Linked DNA regions of Homo sapiens: region 1 is linked to region 2. Evidence: promoter capture Hi-C in human tissues and cell types (Jung and others, 2019). All regions are on one chromosome and are shown on one strand. The core of a region is centred on a gene start or on the middle of the fragment in contact, and the rest is flanking DNA. Distances in the headings are between cores, read along the strand shown.

The links. Contacts are between HindIII fragments. The study calls those that stand out against the background at their distance.
Region 1: a contact is called between a fragment that was not itself captured here and the fragment with the promoter of TVP23A in region 2, in 2 of the 25 tissues and cell types used here (lymphoblastoid cells and spleen).

Annotation. Positions count from the first base shown.
Region 1 is chr16:10,773,773-10,781,565 of GRCh38, reverse strand. TVP23A (trans-golgi network vesicle protein 23 homolog A) reads left to right here. Exons shown (of 8, transcript NM_001079512.4): 3 at 6,470-6,614; 4 at 7,438-7,527. Among named protein-coding and RNA genes, the nearest start is that of NUBP1, 34 kb to the right of the region's middle. The HindIII fragment of the contact is 8,970 bases long and covers 736-7,793 here.
Region 2 is chr16:10,816,176-10,823,243 of GRCh38, reverse strand. It overlaps TVP23A (trans-golgi network vesicle protein 23 homolog A), which reads left to right and starts at 4,450. Exons shown (of 8, transcript NM_001079512.4): 1 at 4,450-4,759; 2 at 5,062-5,141. The coding sequence starts at 4,751. RefSeq lists an enhancer at 1,703-1,912. The HindIII fragment of the contact is 21,418 bases long and covers 1-7,068 here.

The DNA.
Region 1 (7,793 bases), core at 3,971-6,470, 42 kb after region 2:
TCAGGTGGCTTTCACACACATTCCAGGTTGAGAATCTACTGTGCTTCCCTCCGGGGAGGAAGACAATGGGTGACAAGGGCCCAGAGCTGCATAAGTGGATCTAGAAAGAGAGGAAAGTTGAACAGAAGCCCCCATCAGGACTCTCCCTGCCTTGACAACACTTTACTTGAGTAATCCCTTTCCCCCTTTCATCACTGTGTCATTTTCTCACCTCTTCTTTTTTCTTTTTTTTTTTTTGAGATGGAGTCTCACTCTGTCACCCAGGCTGGAGTGCAGTGATGTGATCTTGGCTCACTGCAACCTCCACCTCCCAGGTTCAAGCGATCCTCCTGTCTCAGCCTCCTGAGCAGCTGGGACTACAGGCATCTGCCACCATCCCAGGCTAATTTTTGTATTTTTAGTAGAGATGGGGGTTCTTCATGTTGTCCAGGCTGGTCTTGAACTCCTGACCTCAAGTAATCTGCCCACCTCTGCCTCCCAAAGTGCTGGGATTATAGGCGTTAGCACCGAGTCTCCTCTTCTTGAAACAATGGGTTTCTATGTGGCTGGGGTTGGGGATGTTGGATACTGTGTGGAAATAGCACCTGTTCAAGTTGAACATGATGAAGGTTCATCTGGGGGAATGTGAGGGGCCCAGGAGTCTTGGGAGATCCCTGCAAAGACAAAAGGTAGTCCCCTCAGGAGTGAGAGAAAGTTGTGGTCAGAGGGGGAATTTCACAGTTTGGCTCTTGGTGGTGGAACCGTTGTTTCGAATGACACGGAGGACTGAGATGGTAATGGCTGTCACCTGTTTTTGAGCATGGTGTGTGTTTCAGGCACTTTTATGTACCACCCTCACCCGATGTTTTCAGTGTCTTAGGAAGTGGATCCTGTTGGCATTCCCATTTTGCAGAAGAGGAGATGGAGGGATCACAGAGTTAAGTAGCTTAGGGAAGACCACAGAGCTACTCAGAGATTAGAGCCAGGATTGGAATGCTGGTGGTCTAGCGCCCAAGCCCATGGGTGGCAGGCCAGTTCTCACTAACATAGGCCTCCATAACAGCTGTCTCAGCACTGAATGAGTGGTGAAGTTAAATATTAAAAGCTGAGAGAGCCAGTGCCCTTATACAAAGGCTGGAATGTGACAAAAGCCCACCTAGAGTTGTGCCCAGGTCTTTCCTGGTCCTTGAAGTATGACAAGATAACAAAGGACCCATTTAGGATGAAATAAGTTTATTGGGAGGTCCAAAGAAACTCCCCAGGCCTCCACAAACAAGTTTATTAGGGGTCTGAAGAGACTCCCCAAACCTCCATCATTTAGCAGGAGACAAGATAAGGGTAATCACCCCAGCACCTGGACCCATTTAGATTAAGTAAATTTACTGAGGCTCCAGAGGAAGGTCTTCAGGACTCAGATATTAGTTATAGATTAAAAGAAGTTAATCTTTATTTTATTTTATTCATTCATTCATTCATTCATTCATTCATTCATTCATTTTGAGATGGAGTCTCACTCTGTCGCCCAGGCTGGAGTCCAGTGGCACGATCTTGGCTCACTGCAAACTTTGCCTCCTGGGTTCAAGCAATTCCCCTGCCTCAGCCTCCCGAGTAGCTGGAATTATAGGCGTGCACCACCACACCCGCTAATTTTTGTATTTTTATTAGAGCCGGAGTTTTGCCATGTTGGCCAGGCTGGTCTCGAACTCCTGAGCTCAAGTGATCTGCCTGCCTCAGCTTCCCAAAGGGCTGGGGATTACAGGCGTGAGCCACCGCCCCCGGCCAATCACTTATTTTAGATGAATGCAAACTTATCCATGACATATAGCTCAGAAGGTATATAAGCTCTGGAAAACTTGGTAATTTTAAGTTGGCCTGGCGATATTTTCTAGGTCTTCTCCCTGTAACTGGCTACAGAAATAAAAACTTCCTCTCCCAGTTCATCTGCATCTCGTTTTTGGGCCACAAGAATATGCCGCCTGATTCTCAGTTGGTCCGGGAACACACGCAGCTGGTGCCATGCCCCTGTGCTGTTTGCCTCTCAAGGGGCAACCTCCCAGGTTGGTGCCTGGGAGGGCGGAGTTAGAGAGCAATGGCACTGGGAACTGGAGGTGATTGGTGGTGTGTGTGTGTGTGCTCCATGTTGCTGGGGAGCAGGAGGATGGAGGACCCGATGGCAGAGACGAGTGGACAGGACTTAAGCCATGACTCTCAAAACTCTGGAAAACTGGTCTGAGATCACACAGTATTAGCTAGAGGCACAGGCTGGGCAAACTCCAGATAGGGACTGAATGAGGACTTGGAGGATGCTGATGGAGCAACCTGCATAAAATAGGATTAAAGCAACATTTAAAAGGGCAACAGGCGTCCTCTTCTACTTGCTTTGGGCTTTGAACTCTGTTTGAGTAACACCACTTTCCATTGAGTTAATCAGGGCCCAGCTAAGTGGAAGCTATCAACAACTGGAAATTTTTCTGCATTTTATTTTAGGAGAGCCACAGCCAAAAAGAAAAAAGAAAGAAGCGGGTGGGCAAGGGATTTATTCGAATGCATTTACTTCCACATTTTACCATGGGTCAGCGCACACTTGGCTCACACTTTGACATTTTTTTGAGATCTGTATGTTTTGTTGTTTTGAGATGGAGTCTTGCTCCGTAGTGCAGTGGTGCAATCTCAGCTCACTGCAACCTCTGCCTCCCAGGTTCAAGCAATTCTCCTGCCTCAGCCTCCCAAGTAGCTGGGATTACAGGCGCCTGCCATCAGGCCTGGCTAATTTTTGTAGTTTTAGTAGAGATAGGGTTTCACCATGTTGGCCAGGCTGGTCTCGAACTCCTGACTTCAAGTGATCCAGCCGCCTCAGCCTCCCAAAGTGCTGGGATTATAGGCATGGGCCACCGCGCCCGACCCTCTATCTTTTTTTTTTTTTTTACATTTGTATTGTTCTACAAAGAGGACAGATGTTTCCAGTGATTCTAACTGACTCGATTACAAGGTTCAACATAACAAATATGTTTGCGGAGAATCTTAAATACTGGGTGCTTTTGGGGATATAAAAATGTGTTAAACATGGTCTGTGCCCTCAAAGAACTTTCAGTTATTGAAAGAGCATTTATTTATCTCCAGGGGCAAGGGACAAAATTTTATTCAGTTAGGAAATTCTCAATTAGGTTTACAGCAAAAAGAGACACCCAAGAGTCTTATCTTCTGGAACACTCCAGGAAGTTTTTAAGTTCTATGTGATCCTGTCTAATTCTTCGAGACAGCGATTTGCTCTGTTGCCCAAGCTGGAGTGCAGTGGCATCATCTCGACTCACTGCAACCTCCACCTCCCAGGTTCAAGCGATTCTCCTGCCTCAGCCTCCTGAGTAGCTGGGATTACAGGCACCTGCCACCACAACTGGCTAATTTTTGTATTTTTAGTAGAGACGGAGTTTTACCATGTTGGCCACGCTGGTCTTGAATTCCTGACTTCAACTGATCTGCCTGCCTCGGCCTCCCAAAGAGCTAGGATTACAGGTGTGAGCCACCACACCTGGTGATCCTGTCTAATTCTTCTTTTATTTTTATTTTTATTTTTTTTGAGACGGAGTCTCGCTCTGTCACCAGGCTGGAGTGCAGTAGTACGATCTCAACTCACTGCAACCTCCGCCTCCCAGATTCAAGCAATTCTCCTGCCTCAGCGTCCCGAGTAGCTGGGACTACAGGCGCCCACCACCACGCTCAGCTAATTTTTGTATTTTTAGTAGAGACGGGGTTTCACCATGTTGGCCAGGGATGGTCTCAGTCTCTTGACCTCGTGATCCACCTGCCTCAGCCTCCCAAAGTGCTGGGATTACAGGCGTGAGCCACCACGCCCGGCTTGATCCTGTCTAATTCTTAAAAGCCGGGTGCACTTCCTGGGTTGGTTTTCATTCAGGTCACCAGGAGAGCCAAGAGCCTGAGAGGCTCAGATGAGACCCATCCTGGTGAATAGTTGGTGCTTTGCTACGCAAAAAAGTCACTGTGAAGTCTGCTTCTGAATCTTAACATTCCCCTGGGAGTCGGAAGCCCCACAGTTGTAGAGGCACCTGTGGTTTGTTGACTCGGACTCCGTTTCTTCTTGGGGAGAATGAGCAGGCGCTTTCCCCTGCAGTTCTGTGTGGATCTCTGTGACCACCCCATTCGGCCCCGCATTTTCCAAAGCCCACAACATTTTGTAACCTAATCCAGAGGTTGCAAGCTCACTGCTCGCAGGCCAGTGAGAAACACAGACTGATATTTCAGTAAAAGAATTAGTGGCCATCATTTAAAATCAGATTTCCCATTGCAAGTCTGGATTTCTGACTTCTCATGAAAATCTTGGCTCTGGCAGTACTGGGTCTGGTTTGCACAGCTGCCTGGTGCTGGGAAGAGTCCCTTTCATCCCTCCCTTTTCCTCCCCTGCCCTGAGGTGCGGGTTTCATTCTCATCCATCACTGTGTCAGAGGCGTGTGAACCAGAGCAACTCCATCTTGAATAGGGGCTGGGTAAAACGAGGCTGAGACCTACTGGGCTGCATTCCTGGACGGTTAAGGCATTCTAAGTCACAGGATGAGATAGGAGGTCGCACAGGATACAGGTCATAAAGACCTTGCTGATAAAACAGGTTGCAGTAAAAAAGCCGGCTAAAACCCACCAAAACCAAGATGGCCATGAGAGTGACCTCTGGTCGTCCCCACTGCTACACTCCCACCAGCACCATGACAGTTCACAGATGTCATGGCAACGTCTGGAAGTTGCCCTATATGGTCGAAAAAGGGGAGGCATGAATAATCCACCCCTTCTTTAGCATATCATCAAGAAATAGCCATAAAAATGGGCAACCAGCAGCCCTTAGGACTGCTCTATCTATAGACTAGCCATTCTTTATTCCTTTACTTTCCAAATAAACTTGCTTTCACTTTACTCAATGGACTTGCCCTGAATTCTTTCTTGGGTGAGATCCAAGAACCCTCTCTTGGGGTCTGGATCTGAAACCCTTTCTGGTATAACAACTGGGCTCGTGCCATTGATTTCCTGATCATAGTTGAGTATCGTTCTCTACCTGTGTGCTCTATTTAAACTGGGAAACCACAGAAAGAAACAGAAACCCACAAGTGTCTTCAGTCTGGCCCACATCACCCACTGCCATCACCTGCTCTATACAATTTGGTAACCTTTCTTTTCTTGTTTTTATTTTTTTATTTTTTTATTTTTTGAGTTGGAGTCTGACTTTCTCACCCAGGCTGCAGTGCAGTGGCGTGATCTTGGCTCACTGCAACCTCCGCCTCCCAGGTTCTAGTGATTCTCCTGCCTCAGCCTTCCGAGTAGCTGGGGTTACAGGCAGCCGCCACCATGCCCAGCTAATTTTTGTATTTTGAGTAGAAATGGGGTTTCACCATGTTGGCCAGGCTGGTCTTGAACTCCTGACCTCAGGTGATCCGCCCGCCTCGGCCTCCCAATGTGCTGGCATTACAGGTGTGAGCCACCGTGCCTGGCCTATATCAGACTTACATTAAAAAATAATAATAATAAAAAAAATAAGGCCAGGCGTGGTTGCTTATGCCTGTAATCCCAGCACTTTGGGAAGCCAAAGTGGACAGATCACCTGAGGTCAGGAGTTCGAAACCAGCCTGGCCAACATGTTGAAATCCTGTTTCTACTCAAAGTACAAAAATTAGCTGGGCGTGGTGGCAGGCGCCTATAATCTCAGCTACTTGGGAGGCTGAGGCAGGAGAATTGCTTGAACCCGGGAGGTGGAGGTTGCTGTGAACCGAGATCACGCCACTGCACTCCAGCCTAGGGGACAGAGCAAGACTCCATCTCAAAAAAAAAAAAAAAAAAAAAAGAAAAGCAATTTACACAGGATGAGCATGTTCCCCTTGGCTCCCTCTCTTCTTTCTGGCCAGGTTTGTGTCTAAAGGCACAGTGAACAAGAACCACCTTCCCCTAGATTAAATGCCAGGATTCACGTGCCATTCACCACTGAGCAAGTATGATGAGTTAGACCTGCCATTCACAGGTCACATGTTTCCCTCTGTCCAGGAACACGCATTCCCCGATGACATGAGACACCTGCCCCGTGGGCTGCGTGTGAGCTTGGAGCTCAGTGACTGGTGGTGGAAAAACCCAACCTTTACCTTTAGGGAACTGGCCGTCATCTCTGCTAGGCGGGAAGGCAGTGACTGCTGTCACGTTTCACTTCAAAGATGACCGTGTTTCGAAGAGGGCAAGTGATATTTGGAGTCAAGTGGCGGGAAAGTACTGGATTCTTCGAAGGGGAGGAAAAAAAACAGTGTCAGCATGACTGTCTGGGGACTGCTGACCTAATGATGTGTCCCCAGGGCTACAGCCTGAGTTTCTGCGTCATATGCACCGGGGAGAACATTCCATTGAGCCACGCTAACACCCCCAGCAAAGTCTGAAGTGGTAAAGGGAGTTCAGTGACCATCCGCTTAGCTCTTGGAGTGAGGGCGCCTTCTGGGTCCTTTCCTAGACACCCCTTGGCCACCTTTTTCCACCTGTTTTTCCGAGTGAGTGCCATCGTCACCTACGTGAGCTGCGACTGGTTCAGCAAGAGCTTTGTGGGCTGTTTTGTCATGGTGCTGCTCCTCCTGTCCCTGGACTTCTGGTCTGTGAAGGTGAGGCCCTTTCGTGTGATGTCATCACTTCCGAAACACGAGGCTTGTCCCCTGTGTGCGTGGTACCAAGAGGTACTTTGGTTTAGACTCCTGAGACATGCTTAAGAGTGCTGAGCAGTGTCACTTAAAAGTAAGGGGAATGGAGAAACCCCGTCTCTACTAAAAATACAAAAATTAGCCTGGCGCGGTGGTGTGTGCCTGTAATCCCAGCTACTTGGGAGGCTGAGGCAGAAGAATCACTTGAACCCGGGAGGCGGAGGTTGCAGTGAGCCGAGGTTGTGCCATTGCACTCCAGCCTGGGTGACAAGAGTCAAACTCTGTCTCGGAAAAAAAAAAAAAAAAAAAGAGAGAGAATGAGAGCCAAGTGAGAGGGGTTTCCCTTATAAAAACCATCAGATCTCGTGGCACTTATTCACTACCATGAGAACAGTGTGGGGGAAACTGCCTGTATGATTCAATTATCTCCCACCCGGTCTCCCCCACAACACGTGGGAATTATGGAAGCGACAATTCAAGATGAGGTTTGGGTGGGGAGACAGCCAAACCATATCACTTGTATACGAATTAATACATATATTTAAAACATATATAATATGAACATATAAATTATATATGTTTTGTGGGGGGAGTGTGTAACTTTTTAAAGTAAGCTTAGTTGAAAACTAGAAGTCTTGACATCTGAGAATCCACTACAATTCAAGGCCTTTTTTCTTCCTGCTCCCAGTACAAGTCTGAAATGAATCAAGGAACTTTTGTTTATCAATACAGTGAATAAGCCTCTTTGCCTGTGACCTGCTCAGAGTCCTTTGTCTATTGTTCTCAGAATGTAACCGGAAGACTCCTGGTGGGCCTTCGATGGTGGAACCAGATAGATGAAGATGGGAAGAGCCACTGGATCTTTGAAGCCAGGAAGGTATTCTCCATGACGAGCTGAACTAACCAGAGCGGGGATAATGGGTGTGGAAAGTTTCTGTGGGTTCCTTTGGAGTTTTGTGCATATCTGATTCCTGCCTTACACAAAAGCCACCATTGCCAAGGTGCTCTGGTGAAACATGGGTGTGGCAAAAGTGTCTCCAAAATAGACCGGGCGTGGTGGCTCACGCCTGCAATCCCAGCACTTTGGGAGGCGGAGGTGGGTGGATCACTTGAGGTTAGGAGTTTGAGACTAGCCTGGGCAAC
Region 2 (7,068 bases), core at 3,201-5,700:
TGCCAGGGAGTGGGGTGCAGATCTTAGGGGCCAGTGGGATCGTAGGGAGTGCCACTCATAGGAATGCTGGGCTGAGGGTGATGAGCAGCTGCTGGCTTTGGTGTGACAGGTTTGGGGGCTGCCACTTCCATCCTGCCTGGTGGGGACACGGAGTGCATCTTGGGCCTTTTCAGGCCCCAGATGTAGTCAAACTCTTTCCACTCCCCACTGACCCTCTATGCCAACTGCCCTTTGCTCGCAGCTAAAGAGTCAAACACTCTGCGTGTCTTACAGCCTGCCATGGTCCTGCCAGACTGACGTCTCCTTCCTCCCCTGGCCGAATGTTCTCCTCCAGCCTCTGGGTTCCAGCACCCTGACCTGTGTTTGCCAGAATTCACACCCAAGCCTCTGCCTCCTGGTCCAGGACTCCTGGGGTCACTGGAGAGAAAGACTGTGTGTGTACCTCTGTCCAGGTGCCCTATGTCCCGGGGGCACGCAGTGTGAGGCCAACAGGAGCCACTCAGGAAAGGCCAGCCCTGTTCTGCTGGGAAGACAGATATCCCCAGCAGAGGCCCCTGACACGAGGCTCCTGTCCTGTGTGCTGCTGGCCCATGGGGGCTCCTGACCCGAGACCCCTCTGCTGATGACCTTAAGTCACTGTCAACAAGGCCGCTGTTTCCTGAGCCCCTATTCAGAGAAAGGAATCTGACATGTTTTCTCTGGTCCTTCATCATCCTTGCCAGGTAGGGGGAAAGTATGGCGCCACTTTACAGATGTGGAGACTGAGGCCAGAGAGGTGAAGTCCCCTGCCTAAGGTGACCTGTCCCCTCCCCAACAAAGCCTGCAGACTCCAGATGTTGACCTCCAAGGTCAGCCAGAGGCCAGTGGCTACCTGAGCCTGGACCTCCTTCCCTGGGGTTGTTCTGGCTTCAAGGTCCCAAGCCCAGCTGCAGGGATCGGAGATGGGGTTGCTTCTCACAGGTCTACTCCCCAAATCCTTCAGGGGCCAAGACCAGTGTGGGTAGGGGGAGGGGAGAGGGCCAGTGTTTCCCAAAGGTCGGGCTTCCAAGCCCTCTCTGCGGCTCTTATTAAGGCAGATCTCCAAGCCGCAACCCTGGAGGTTCAGAAAACCTAGAGTGAGATCCTAAAATCTACCCTTTTGTTTGTTTGTTTGTTGTTTTTTTTCCGAGACTGAATCTCACTGTGTGGCCCAGGCTGGAGTGCAGTGGCGCAATCACAGCTCACCACAACCTCCACTTCCCGGGTTCAAGCGATTCTCCTGCCTCAGCCTCCTGAGTAGCTGAGATTACAGGCTTGCGCCACCATGCCCGGCTCATTTTTTGTATTTTTAGTAGAGATGGGGTTTCGCCATATTGGCCAGGCTGATCTCAAACTCCTGACTTCAAGTGATCTACCCACCTCGGCCTCCCAAAGTGCTGGGATTACAGGTGTGAGCCACTGTGCCCGGCCTAAAATCTACCTTTCAACCAGGTGTCTCTGCCGCAGCCAGTTTTAAAACCAAGATGAGTTCTCTGTGCAACCCTCAGGCCCTCTGCCCACCCCTCAGATTCAGGAAGCTGACCCCACAGAGGGCCGTCTGGGCCACGTGTAGAGGGAGGGTGCTTTCTTCCAAGGAGGGAATAATAGGGCTTCATATGTGGCCCCAGCATCTGTATCCTCAGCCCTCTGCCCCATGTGGACAGGTCAGGAGGGATGGAAGTGACCCTGTATTTATAGAGCCACCTCCAGATGGCAGGAGCTGAGGATATTTCTGGAGGAACCTCCAACCCAGTGGCTGAGAATGACAGTTGGTCCTGACTGGGGATTCCACGGGGGTTTTCCCATGACTCCAGGAACCCCAACTCAACAGACACCAACAGCTGGTGATTCTTAGGGTCAGAGAAAAAGCCCCTAAATGTTCTGCAACGGCTTCTTCCCTCCAGCTGCCCTCCTGCCTCCTTCCTCCCAATATCCCCTTCCCAGGCTGCTGGGGCCCCGCTGGGAGTGGGCCTCTCCGTTCACCCTTCTGGGCAGGAAGAGCTCACAGGCCTTTCTAGAAAACCAGGCCTTGGTGGTTTAGATCTTTACAATTCAAAGGGTGGTCCAGGGAGCAGCAGCATCAGCTTCTCCCACGGGCTCTCAGAAATGCAGGATCTCAGCCGGATGTGGTGGCTCACGGCTGTAATTCCAGCCTTTTGGGAGGCTGAAGCAGGCAGATCACTTGAGGTCAGGAGTTCGAGACCAGCCTGGCCAACATGGTGAAACCCTGTCTCTACTAAAAACACAAAAATTAGCCAGGCGTGGTGGTATGTTCCTGTAGTCCCAGCTACTTAAGGGGCTGAGGCACAAGAATCACTTGAACCCAGGAGGTGGAGGTTGCAGTGAGCTGAGATCTAGCCACTGACTCCATCTCAAGAAAGAAAGAAAGGAAGGAAGGAAGGAGAAAAGAAAAGAAAGGAAGGAAAGAAAGGAAGAAAGAATCTCAGCCCCTGCCCAGACCCCCAGACCCCCAGAACGCTGAGTCAGCATCCAGCTTCTAAGCCAACCCCAGGAGATTCATTTGCAGATTGAGGGGTCAGAAGCACTCATTTAAATCACTGGTTCTTTACCTTGCAGCCCAACACCTGGGAGCTTTAAAAGCACTGGTATAGGGTCCCATCCCCAGAGAGCCTGATTTAATTGGTCCATAACACAATCTGGGCAGTGTGTCTTTTAGAAGCTATCCAAATCGCAGCAGAGTTTGGCAAATATATATACATATACATATATATATATATATATATATATATATATATATATATATATATATACATACACACACACATATATACACATTGTATATATATAAATCTTGGTTCCTGAAGATCGCATAGTAGAGGCTGGGTGCAGTGGTTCATGCCTGTAATCCCAGCTCTTTGGGAGGCCAAGGTGGGTGGATCACCTGCGGTCAGGAGTTGGAGACCAGCCTGGCCAACATGGTGAAACCCCCTCTCTACTAAAAATACAAAATACAAAAATTACCCGGGTTGATGTCAGGCGCCTGTAATACCAGCTACCTGGGAGGCTGAGGCAGGAGAATTGCAGGAACCCGGGAGGCAGGGGTTGCAGTGAGCCGAGATCGCACCATTGCACTCCAGCCTGGGTGACAAGAGGGAAACTCCATCTCAAAAAAAAAAAAAAAGAGAAATGGCATAGGAGAAAGCACTTTCCCTCCACACACACCTGGCAGGCCCTTGTGGGGTCAGCTTAGGGAATTGGGGTGGGGGCGGAGGACAGAAAGCCTGGAACCCAGGCCCAGGATCAGAGATGAGACAGCTCCTGCCTCCACCTCCGCCCATGGAGACCAGCAGTGGGGAAAATGTGTCAGGGGCTTGTGGCCCAGGAGCCCTCTTTGGGGTCACCAGGGGCAGGGGACACGTACCTATTGTCCATGGTGGGAGGGCAAAGGGCAGGGTCACTGGCTTTGGCATCTCGATGCTCAGCCCTCTGTCCGTGGGTGGGGGATCAGGACAGGGAGAGGGCACGCAGGAGAGGAGAGTCACTGTGTCCTGGGCCAGGAAAGACCCTCAGGTGACAAGTTTTCTTTCCTGGGAGGTACCCAGGAAGACTTTCACTTCAAGAAACACTACTATTACTGTCAATAATAGTATTAATACTACTAATAACTTTGCGCTTAATAAGTGCCTGGCACGGCGATGCACGCAGATCTCACTGTGGTTCTGAAGCTGTGGCTATAGCAGCGCCACCCCTTAAAAGGCAGGTGAGGCCGGGTGTGGTGGCTCACTCCTGTAATCCCAACACTTTGGGAGGCTGAGGCAGGAGGATGGCTTGAACCTCGGTGTTCAAGACTAGCCGGGGCGACATAGTGAGACCCTCCTCTCTACAAAAATAAAAATTTAGCTAGGTGTGGTGGTGCAGCCTGTGGTCCCAGCTTTTCGGGAGGCTGAGGCGGGAGGACTGCTTGAGCCCTGGAGTTTGAGGCCACAGTGAGCTACGATGGCACCAGTGCTCTCCAGCCTAGGTGCAGAGAATGTTCCCAACAATCTCTGCACGCAAGAAATTCCCAGGAACCTTGTGAAAAGCAGATTCTCAGGCCCGGCCCGGGGGATGTGGAAGGCCTGGAGTGGGGCCCTAGAATCTGCCTTCCCCACCCCACCCCCCAAAAAAGAACACAGCAGGGCCCATCCTAACTGCATTTTGTCGTGGGGGGTGGGGGCGCGGGGAAGGCAGATTCTAGGGCCCCACTCCAGGCCTTCCACATCCCCCGGGCCGGGCCTGAGAATCTGCTTTTCACAAGGTTCCTGGGAATTTCTTGCGCGCAGAGACTGTTGGGAAACACTGACCTTCTCCCAACCCTGAATGCGGCTGCCCACCACTGACATTCATTCACTGCCTTATCATTCGCTACATCCACGTTTATGCGCCGTCCACACCATTCGCTGACGCAGCCGCCCCCCGCCCCCGACTCCCATTCCTCCCACTATCTCTGTCCGCAGTTCCCCAGGCCGTTGCCTCCCTGCCGCCGCTTTCTCTCCTGGGCGCGTCCCCGGCGAGCCGAGCCCCCTCCCCAGCCTGCGACTGCGCCTTAGGCCCCGAGCGCCCCGCCCCACCCGAGAAGCTGCGCTGAGGCTGCCCCACAGGGCGCAGGCCCCGACCCTCAGCGTCCACCGTCTGCTGCCTACATCCGCCCGCCCGGCGTCCGACCCCTTCAGCGGCGACGGGCGGAGCTGGAGCCCCGGGCCTGGGCGCCAGGTGGGCTCCTGGGAGGGTGATGAAGCAGGTAGGGCCTCGGGGATGCTGGGGCTGGAGGCGGGGCGGGACGAGGGGAGCCTGCGGGAGCGCTGGAGAAGCCGGGAGGAGGAGGAGGGATGCGCCGGGGCCTGGGGCTGGGCTGCACCCGGTGGTCGGGAGGGTGGAGAGGGCTTTGCACTGCAGCCGCAGCGGAGGGGCCCCGCCAGCTCGGAGGGTCCACTTGGGAACCCGGTGGGGTGCAAGTGGAGTCCAAGCCCAGGAGGACAGGGCGGGTGGGGTTGGGGTGTGCGCCGTGCTTGGGCCTGCCACCTGCCCTTGCTCTCCTCCCAGGCCCTGGTGGACGATACCGAGGATGTGTCCCTGGACTTTGGAAACGAGGAGGAGCTGGCCTTTAGGAAAGCCAAGATCAGGTGTGTTGGGATGGAGCTTGGGTCAGGCGTTCCCCAAAGCTGCAAATTCATTCATTTACTCACTCATTCATTCAAAATATATTGAGCACCTACTGTGTGCCAGGTCTGGGGCTGGGGACATATCTGTGGACACATCAGACAAAGTCCCTGCCCTCCTGGAGCCTGCATTGGGAGAGGGAGGAAGAAGGGGTGGAGTTGATGTTGAACAGGCAAGGAGATTAATGAGATAATTGAATGTGAGAAGAAAATCAGCCCTGTGATGAAAGAGAAGGTAACTAGAGAAGGCCACTTGCCTTAGTGCAGCCATGGAGGGCCTCTCTGAGGAGGTGGCATTTGAGCTGAGACCAGAATGATGAGAAGCAGCCAGCCATGGGAGACTCCAGAGGGAGAGTGTTCCAAGCTGAAGGAACAGCAAGCGCAAAGGCCCTGGGGCTATGTTGTAAGATCAGAGAAAGCCACTGAGGCCAGAGGGGAGCAAGCTTGGCAGTGGGCTGGACAAGTGGAAGAGAGCTTGGAGTTTTATTCTAATCCCTGCTGAGTCTAGCTAGACAGACTTGTCCTGGGTCAAGTCACTTAACTGCCTGAGACCTCTAGCATCCCAGAAGGTGGCATGACCAAGGCATGAGGGATGACCTGTGAACGTGGTTGCCGATGGCCCAGGCGGCAGCCACTTCTAGAAACACCCACAGCTCAGCCTCACTCACCCACCCAGTTCTGCTTCCAGCTATCAGAGCCAGTAGGCATGGGACGAGCCCTGGCACCCAAATGCCATTCCTTGTAAAGTCTCTGTTTTTAAAATCAAACTCTCTGATTCAAACCTAATAAACCCCAGAAAGTAATAGACTGTATTAGTTTCCTATGGCCGCTAGAACAAATTACCATTATCATCTTGGCTTAAGACAAAAGAAGTTTATTCTCCTGCAGTTCTGGAGGCCAGAAGTCCACAGTCAGTGTTCCTGGGCTGAAACCAAGGTGGCAGCAGTGCCACACTCCCTTCGGAAGAATTAGGGGAAAATCCATTCTTTGCCTTTTCCAGCTTTTGGTGACTGCTGGCATTCTGTGGCTTGTGGCCTGTTCCTCCGTCTTCAAGGCCAGTGTTATAGCATGTTCACATCTCTCTCTGTTCCATGGTCAGGTGACGTGTGTGTGTGTGTGTGTGTGTGTGTGTGTGTGTGTGAAGTTTCCCTGTGCCTCTTTCTTTTTTTTTATTTTATTTATTTTTTATTATTATTGTACTTTAAGTTTTAGGGTACATGTGCACAACGTGAAGGTTCGTTACATATGTATACATGTGCCATGTTGGTGTGCTGCACCCATTAACTCGTCATTTAGCATTAGGTATATCACCTAATGCTATCCCTCCCCACTTCCCCCGTGCCTCTTTCTTATAAGGACTATTGTGTTGGCATTTAGCGTCCACCCAGATAATCTAGGATAACCTTTGCATCTCAAGATCCTTAATTATAGGCTGAGTGCATGGCTCACACCTGTAAGTAATCTCAGCACTTTGGGAGGCCAAGGCGGGCAGATCACTTGAGGTCAGAAGTTTGTGACCAGCCTGGCCAACATGGTGAAACCCTGTTTCTACAAAAAATACAAAAATTAGCTGGGTGTAGTGGCATGCACCTGTAATCTCAGCCACTCAGGAGGCTGGGGAAGGAGAATCACTTGAACCCGGGAGGTAGAGGCTGCAGTGGGCTGAGATCACACCACTACACTCCAGTCTGGGCGACAGAGTGAGACCCTGTCTCAAAAAAAAAAAATTCTTAATTAAATAATTAAATTACATCTGCAAAGTCCCTTTCATCATATATGGTGGCTGTCACAATTTCTGGGGATTAGAACCTGGATTTCTTTTTTTTTTTTTTTTTTTTGAGATAGGGTTTTGCTCTGTTGCCAAGGCTATATAGTGCAGTAGTACAATTAT